3 separate regions of the Homo sapiens genome follow, and regions 2 and 3 are each linked to region 1. The links are contacts of gene promoters, found by promoter capture Hi-C in blood cells and fetal thymus (Javierre and others, 2016). All regions are on one chromosome and are shown on one strand. Each heading gives the region's core, a stretch centred on a gene start or on the middle of the fragment in contact. The rest is flanking DNA. Distances are from core to core; before and after follow the strand shown. Region 1 holds the start of STMN4 (stathmin 4). Region 2 has its middle 160 kb from the start of DPYSL2. Region 3 has its middle 170 kb from the start of ADRA1A.

Region 1 (2,601 bases), core at 58-2,557:
GGGCAGCATTGCTGGGAGACTCTGGCTTCCTTCTGTGGAGCTGCAGATCAGACCTTTTCCCCTCTGCCTTCTCACTGCTCCAGCACTATGATTATTTCCTCATCTGAAGGATGATCTCATTCCCCTAGCACCCGCCTGTGGGAGAGGTTTCCTCCCCCTGGGAGGCGGGGGCTCAGCCTCAGGTGGAGACAGATTCCCTCATATTCCCTCTCAACCTCCCACCCATCCCTCGAGCCTCAGCAGGCCACCTCTGGCCATCCCACCTTGTATTCTCTTGGTCTTAAGACAGGGGGTATCCCTTCCCAGGGCATTCAGATAAGGGTGCCTGAACATTCCTGACCTCTCCCTCCGACCCCCATACAAACACACACACACACACACACACACACACACACACACACACACAGCATTCTGGAGACCTGCTCATGTTCAGGACAACAAGACTCCACCACACCTGATTGTGTCTTCCTGGGAGAAATAAAACAAAGACAGCACCGCCACGTGGGGACAGCTGACTGCTGGACATCAAAACCCTGGGTCCCAGGATGAGAAATGAATGATGCCTAAACTCCTGGCAAGTGTGGTGGGCTGAATAAGGAGGGGGACTGGCCAGGGCCCCAGTCAAGGACCAGGGCGTGGCAGTTCTGGGTGTCTGCAGTTTTCAGCTTTGGAGCCAGCCACCTCTGGCCAGGTAGGATTAGGCTGACCTCAGGGTGGGGCGGGGCCAAGAGGAGGTGATGATCTCATTGCATCCTTAGAACCAAGAGAAAAAAGTAACCCGTGCATAGAGCCGAAGGAAAAGATGTGTGATCAAAATGGGAATGGGAGACAAGAAAAGCTGTGTCTGAGGAAGAAAAGGTAAAAACACAGGAGAGCTTCCCACTTGAAAGGGATCTTCAGGTCACAGCCAGCTGCAGGGGCAGCCAGACTCAGCACAAAACCTTTCTCCTTAAGCAACAAAACATTTTTATGCAGAAATAGCTCACCATAGCATCTGACAATTCCCACCCATCCTGCCTCTCCTGAGCTCTGGAATAAAAGTGGCACCCGGAGCCCACCCTCACCCCTTGGCCGAGCGCCATTCTTTCTGCCTCACCCCCTTTCCCCCAAGATCTGACAAAGTTTAAATGATTGAGTAGAACCAAAGGTGACACAATAGGTGCTAGGCCCCTCGCTTCTCCCCACTGTAGCTGCTGTCTTGTTTTTTCTTTTGCCTGAAAAGCCTCAAATTAGTTGCATTTTATTTCTACTTACGTGCAGTCCAGTTAGAAGCGAGCTGCTCTCTTCCTCACTCCCTCAATTAGTGGTACCCTGGGCTTCTCTCAACATCAGCACCACTGCTCGCTCTTGCCATGACATCACCTCCAAGCTCTGTGATTGGCCAGCAGTGGGTTGCTTGGCAATTGGACAGTCTCCTCTGGTGGAGCAGGGATTGCCTGAGTGAGTAACTCTTAGCAGGCCAGGGAGTGAAAGATGATGTCAGACAAAGAGCCTGCTTTCTCTGCTGCCTGTGGAGCTGGAGAACCAGAGGGGTGAGGGCGGAGAGGAAGAAAGAAAGAGGGAGTGGTACAGAGAAGGTTGGGGAGAAGCCACAGCTTGCGAGCTGGGGGTATAATGAATGATTTCCAGGATCTTTAGGTCCTTTAAATTTGGGGGTGAGAGAATATGGAATCCAGAGAAGAAATAAAAAAGAACAGATGAACCCTAAAAATAGCTTCCTGGAGGGCTTGGTGCCTGTTTCCAGCTCTGTCAGAAGGGCTGGTGGGTTTGAACGATGACTCAGAAGGCGGGGGGTTGCGGGGACTGCAAAAACCCCAGGATTGGGAGCTGATGAGGGCCCTGCACTGGAGTCTCTGGAGAATAAGGCTTCCCTCTGGCCACCTTTGCAAAGGTATCAGCCACATCTCTGCTGACACTAGTGGGTCCTCACTGCCCCTCCCATCCAGCCCTCCTGGGCCTTCCAGAGGGAGCCACAGGTAGGAAGATGGACTGGTCATTACACTGGTGATTCCCAAATATGGTGGATTTTTTAAAATTTTCAGTAAGTTTTTGGGAAACAGGTGGTGTTTGGTTACATGAATAAGTTCTTTAGTGGTGATTTCTGAGATTTTGGTGCACCATCACCCGAGCAGTGTACGCTGTCCCCAGTGAGTAGTCTTTTATCCCTCACTCTCCTCCCACTCTTTCCCCCAAGTCTCCTAAGTCCCTTGTATCATTCTTATGCCTTCGCGCCCTCCTAGCTTAGCTCCCACTTATGAGTGAGAACATATGATGTTTGGTTTTCCATTCCTGAGTTACTTCACTTAGAATAATGGTCTCCAATTCCACCCAGGTTGCTGCAAATGCCATTATTTCATTGCTTTTTATGGCTGAGTAGTATTCCACGGTGTGTGTGTGTGTGTGTGTGTGTGTGTGTGTGTGTGTGTGTATTACATTTTCTTTATCCACTTGTTAATTGGTGGGCATTTGGGCTGGTTCTATATTTTTGCAATTGCGAATCATGCTGCTATAAGCATGCATGTGCAAGTATCTTTTTTGTACAATAACTTCTTTTTCTCTGGGTAGATACCCAGGAGTAGGATTGGTGGATCAAATGGTAGA
Region 2 (2,601 bases), core at 43-2,542, 580 kb before region 1:
AACTTGACACTGTCACAACGTGAGTAAAACTGAGAGAGGCTGATGGGAGCAGAGCATCCCATCTATGCAGGAGAATCCCTGTCCCGGAGCAAGCAGGAGGCTGATGGGAACAGAGTATCCCATCTATGCAAGAGAATCCCTGCCTTGAGACAAGCAGGACCAGCATGCACCAAGGTGCATGAAATTCCTGCGATAAACATCCAGTTATCCATGTTAAGACGAGCACCTTGTCATCACCCAGCCAAGATGTTCTTCTTTACGGGCAAGTCAATTCCTGTTGCCTGTTTCTTTTCTTCCTTTCTTTTTTTTTTTGAGACAGAGCTTCACTCCTGTTGCCCTGGCTGGAATGCAATGGCGTGATCTCTGCTCACCACAACCTCTGCCTCCTGGGTTCAAGTGATTCTTATGCCTCAGCCTCCTGAGTAGGGATTACAGGCATGTGCCACCAAGCCCGGCTAATTTTATATTTTTAGCTGAGACAGGGTTTCTCCATGTTGGTCAGGCTGGTCTCGAACTCCAGACCTCAGGTGATCTGCCCGCCTCGGCCTCCCAAAGTGCTGGGATTACAGGCAAGAGCCACTGCGCCCGGCCTCCTGTTGCCTGTTTCTTAGGGTCCCCTTTGTGTATTTGAAAATTAAAACATGAACCTGGGGCCTTTAGAGTGAGAATATCTCCTGGCTTCAGGGTTGTGACTTAACCTCTTAGTAGCCATCTCTATTTTATTTTATTTTTAAGCATGTCATCACTTTTAGGTGTGCAGTTCAATGGCATAAAGTATATTCACACTCTTGTACAACCATCACCACCACCCATTTCCAGAACTTTTTTCATCTTGTGAAACTGAAACTCTGTCCTCATTAAGCACCAGCTCCCCCTTCCCCCTGGCCCCCATTCCTGGCAATCACCACTCCACTTTGTCTGTATGATTTTGACTACTCTAGCTATCTCATATTAGTGGACTCATGCAGCATTGTCCTTCTGTGATTGGCTTATTTAATTTAGCATAATATCTTCCAGGTTCATCCATGTTATAGTATGTGTCAGAATCTCCTTTATCAAGGCCGAATAACATTTCATTGTGAGTATACACCACATTTTGTTTATCTGTGCGTTGGTCAATAGACACTTGGGTTTCTTCCACATGTTGGCTATTGTGGATAATGCTGCTATGAACATGGGTGTATAAATATCTGTTTGAGTGCCTTCTGTTAAATCTTTTGGGTATATACTTAGATGAAATTGCTGGATCTTATGGTAATCCTACTTTCAATTTTTTGAGGAACCACCATACTGTTTTCCATAGCAGCTGCACCATTTCAAATTCCCACCAATGGCACATAAGTTTTCCAATTTCTCCACATTCTTGCCAACAGTTGTTATTGTCTTTTTTTTTTTAAATTTATTATTATTATACTTTAAGTTTTAGGGTACATGTGCACAATGTGCAGGTTAGTTACATATGTATACATGTGCCATGCTGGTGCACTGCACCCACTAACTTGTCATCTAGCATTAGGTATATCTCCCAATGCTATCCCTCCCCCCTCCCCCCACCCCACAACAGTCCCCAGAGTGTGATGTTCCCCTTCCTGTGTCCATGTGTTCTCATTGTTCAATTCCCACCGATGAGTGAGAATATGCGGTGTTTGGTTTTTTGTTCTTGCGATAGTTTACTGAGAATGATGATTTCCAATTTCATCCATGTCCCTACAAAGGATGTGAACTCATCATTTTTTATGGCTGCATAGTATTCCATGGTGTATATGTGCCACATTTTCTTAATCCAGTCTATCATTGTTGGACATTTGGGTTGGTTCCAAGTCTTTGCTATTGTGAATAATGCCGCAATAAACATATGTGTGCATGTGTCTTTATAACAGCATGATTTATAGTCCTTTGGGTATATACCCAGTAATGGGATGGCTGGGTCAAATGGTATTTCTAGTTCTAGATCCCCGAGGAATCACCACACTGACTTCCAAAAGGGTTGAACTAGTTTACAGTCCCACCAACAGTGTAAAAGTGTTCCTATTTCTCCACATCCTCTCCAGCACCTATTGTTTCCTGACTTTTTAATGATTGCCATTCTAACTGGTATGAGATGGTATCTCATTGTGGTTTTGATTTGCATTTCTCTGATGGCCAGTGATGGTGAGCATTTTTTCATGTGTTTTTTGGCTGCATAAATGTCTTCTTTTGAGAAGTGTCTGTTCATGTCCTTCGCCAAGTCAATCCTAAGCCAAAAGAACAAAGCTGGAGGCATCACACTACCTGACTTCAAACTATACTACAAGGCTACAGTAACCAAAACAGCAAGGTACTGGTACCAAAACAGAGATATAGATCAATGGAACAGAACAGAGCCCTCAGAAATAATGCCACATATCTACAACAATCTGATCTTTGACAAACCTGAGAAAAACAAGCAATGGGGAAAGGATTCCCTATTTAATAAATGGTGCTGGGAAAACTGGCTAGCCATATGTAGAAAACTGAAACTGGATCCCTTCCTTACACCTTATACAAAAATCAATTCAAGATGGATTAAAGACTTAAACGTTAGACCTAAAACCATAAAAACCCTAGAAGAAAACCTAGGCA
Region 3 (2,601 bases), core at 32-2,531, 560 kb before region 1:
AACACAGTGAGTGTTGGTCTTTGCTTAATGGAGTCTCAAGAAGACATTTTCAATGCTACAGGAGGCCTTTTCTTTCCCCTGCTAGAAAATTCATAGTCTTGTGACATTTTTTGGCAGTATGTGAAAATACAAGGAATTGATGGTGTGGATTCCTTGACACTTTAGGGAGGACTGCAAAGGGTTCAGAGCTTTGCTTCTAGTTTTTGATGGCATGAGATCCCATTTAGAAGCTCCTCTGAATGCTCACTGTAGCCAGCTTTTAAGTACAATGAGTTTGTTTGCTAACTATTATTATTTTGATATTAAAAAAATCAAACGGCTACTATTGGATTGCTTGCTTCTGTGGATCGCTAGGACTTTCAAGTAGAACTTAAATTCCAGTTCTAGAAATCCAGATAAATATTTAGAAGCTTCTGTGCATATTTGTGGAAGTCAGGGATGCGTTCAAGTTGGAGTGCACCAACAAACTCCTCCATTTCTTCAGCCAAAAGCCCCTGCCTTCCTCATAGAAAGTACACCTCCATGGGACACCTGAAATGGATTCCTTTCAACTTGAAGCTCTGTGAAATCAACGTTTGGAAGTGTCTGTGCTTGGTGACTATGCTTATGGCTGAAGTGCAACAAAATATTATAGTAATTTTTGTCTGCTTTACTGACACTTACACCTCTGACAGCACTTAGTTTGTGAGAACTGGAGTTGGGGGCTCATTAATAAATATTAACTGTTGGAGGAGAGTTCAGAGTTTCTCTCTACGCTCTCTCAGCTTGGTAAGGGCTGATTAGATTTAATGATACAGACTGGGCCACATTTGCTCTCGGGTGGCTTTCCTCTATGTTCATAGAGTCTCTCTGGGGTGAATCCTATGACCTGTCTGTGAGAACCAGTTGAAAGCACAAGAGATTCCGGTACTAAACATTGATAACAGTGTCAGCAACCTTCCTCTGTCAATGCTGTAAGGCCAGGGTTGAAATTTAGCCAAGTTTTATGCTTGTTGATTCCTGCCCCTCACTACTTACTCCAATTTCACTTCTTAAAAATGTGGTCACTATCCAATATTCTTTTTTTTTTTTTTTTTTTTGAGATGAATCTCGCCCTGTCCTCCAGGCTGGAGTGCGATGGTGCGATCTTGGCTCACTGCAACCTCCACCTCCTGGGTTCAAATGATTCTCCTGACTCAGCCTTCCCAGTATCTGAGATTACAGGCACCCGCCACCATGCCCAGCTATTTTTTTTATTTTTTATTTTTTATTTTTAGTAGAGACGAGGTTTCACCATGTTGGCCGGGCTGGTCTCGAGCTCCTGACCCCATGATCTGCTCGCCTCAGCCTCCCGAGTTGCTTGTGAATTGCCTTTGTTCCTGGTTTAGGTGGCATGAGGCATTGAAGCTGTGCTTTCACTTCCTAAGATTAGAACTAGGACACTGGAGACTGTGTCTTTTGATTCTTCTTTCTGAGAATTCTTTCAAATAGCTTCAGGTCCACTTCCTGTAAGCAAATTAACGTTTTGACTGTGAGATTTGCACTGGCCTTAACGAAGTATTCATGATTCAATTGAAAGCAATTTAGCGATTGCTGTAGTGAGTACTGACAGAAATCTTCAAAATGTCTAGCCCTAAACTACAAGAGTTTGTTTGGAATGGTTATCTATAGCATGTCAACGAATCACAACAGCTACTTGTTTCAAGTTCTATTTTTGAAAGCAAAGTACAGCAGCCTTGAAAGTCCTGAACTGGAGGAAGAAAAAGGAATCAGAAGAGTCAATAGAATGACATTTCCTGGCTTTTCTAAAAAAATAATAGGCCTCAAAAAAAATTAGCCGGGTGTGGTGGTGGGCACCTGTAGTCCCAGCTACTTGGGAGGCTGAGGCAGGAGAATGGCGTGAACCCGGAAGGCGGAGCTTGCAGTGAGCCAAGATCACGCCACTCACTGCACTCCGGCCTGGGCGACAGAGCAAGACTCAGTCTCCAAAAAAAAAAAAAAAAGAAAGAAAGAAAAAGAAGAAATATCCATCCATCATTTTCAATACCTAGGATATGAATTTAATCACATGGGGTGGCTTAGTTCTCCCCAAAACTTGAAGGAATCCTCACCAGCATCTCCTACATGTGTATTTCCTGTGAATAAAATGGTAGCAGCACTTAAGCAGGGAAATGAAGCTTTGATCATGCATCGGCTTCAGTACCAGTGACAGCAAGAAACAACACAGGTACACCCCAATATTTCTCTTGTTGTCTGCTATTGGTTTCTGAATAACAGCATTTAGTTTTTTTTCTCAATCTTGAAAGCCTGAGCAGCAGCTCTGCAATGTGAATCTAGCTCTTAAAGTTTTTGTAAGAAGCAAAAAGTGACTATAGCTGATGAAATGTATTTAAGTGTGTAGCAAACTCAAATGCCCTCTAGGTGGAGTATTCACAGACACTGGCAGAAATCTCTAATGGGGCTGACTTTATTTATAAGCAGGCAGTGCATATTGAAACTGATATCTTGGCTCTCTGTGCATCTTTAGGGGAGCAACACCAGCTGTTCTTTGGAAATTTGCAAACAAACTTGCAGTTGTTCTCAGTAGTTCATAGCAGGTGAAATAAAGGAGATATCACCAAT

Evidence for each region. The method cuts DNA at HindIII sites, captures the fragments that hold promoters and counts their contacts. A CHiCAGO score of 5 or more calls a contact.
Region 2: a fragment that was not itself captured here is called in contact with the fragment with the promoter of STMN4 in region 1 in 1 of 17 cell types (M2 macrophages); the score reaches 6.9 in M2 macrophages.
Region 3: a fragment that was not itself captured here is called in contact with the fragment with the promoter of STMN4 in region 1 in 3 of 17 cell types (M1 macrophages, M2 macrophages and endothelial precursors); the score reaches 5.8 in M1 macrophages.

Annotation. Positions count from the first base shown.
Region 1 is chr8:27,257,097-27,259,697 of GRCh38, forward strand. STMN4 (stathmin 4) reads right to left here and starts at 1,308. Exons shown (of 7, transcript NM_030795.4): 1 at 1,255-1,308. The HindIII fragment of the contact is 11,371 bases long and covers 1-2,601 here.
Region 2 is chr8:26,674,457-26,677,057 of GRCh38, forward strand. No RefSeq gene overlaps it. Among named protein-coding and RNA genes, the nearest start is that of DPYSL2, 160 kb to the left of the region's middle. The HindIII fragment of the contact is 4,129 bases long and covers 1-2,601 here.
Region 3 is chr8:26,698,908-26,701,508 of GRCh38, forward strand. No RefSeq gene overlaps it. Among named protein-coding and RNA genes, the nearest start is that of ADRA1A, 170 kb to the right of the region's middle. The HindIII fragment of the contact is 1,746 bases long and covers 409-2,154 here.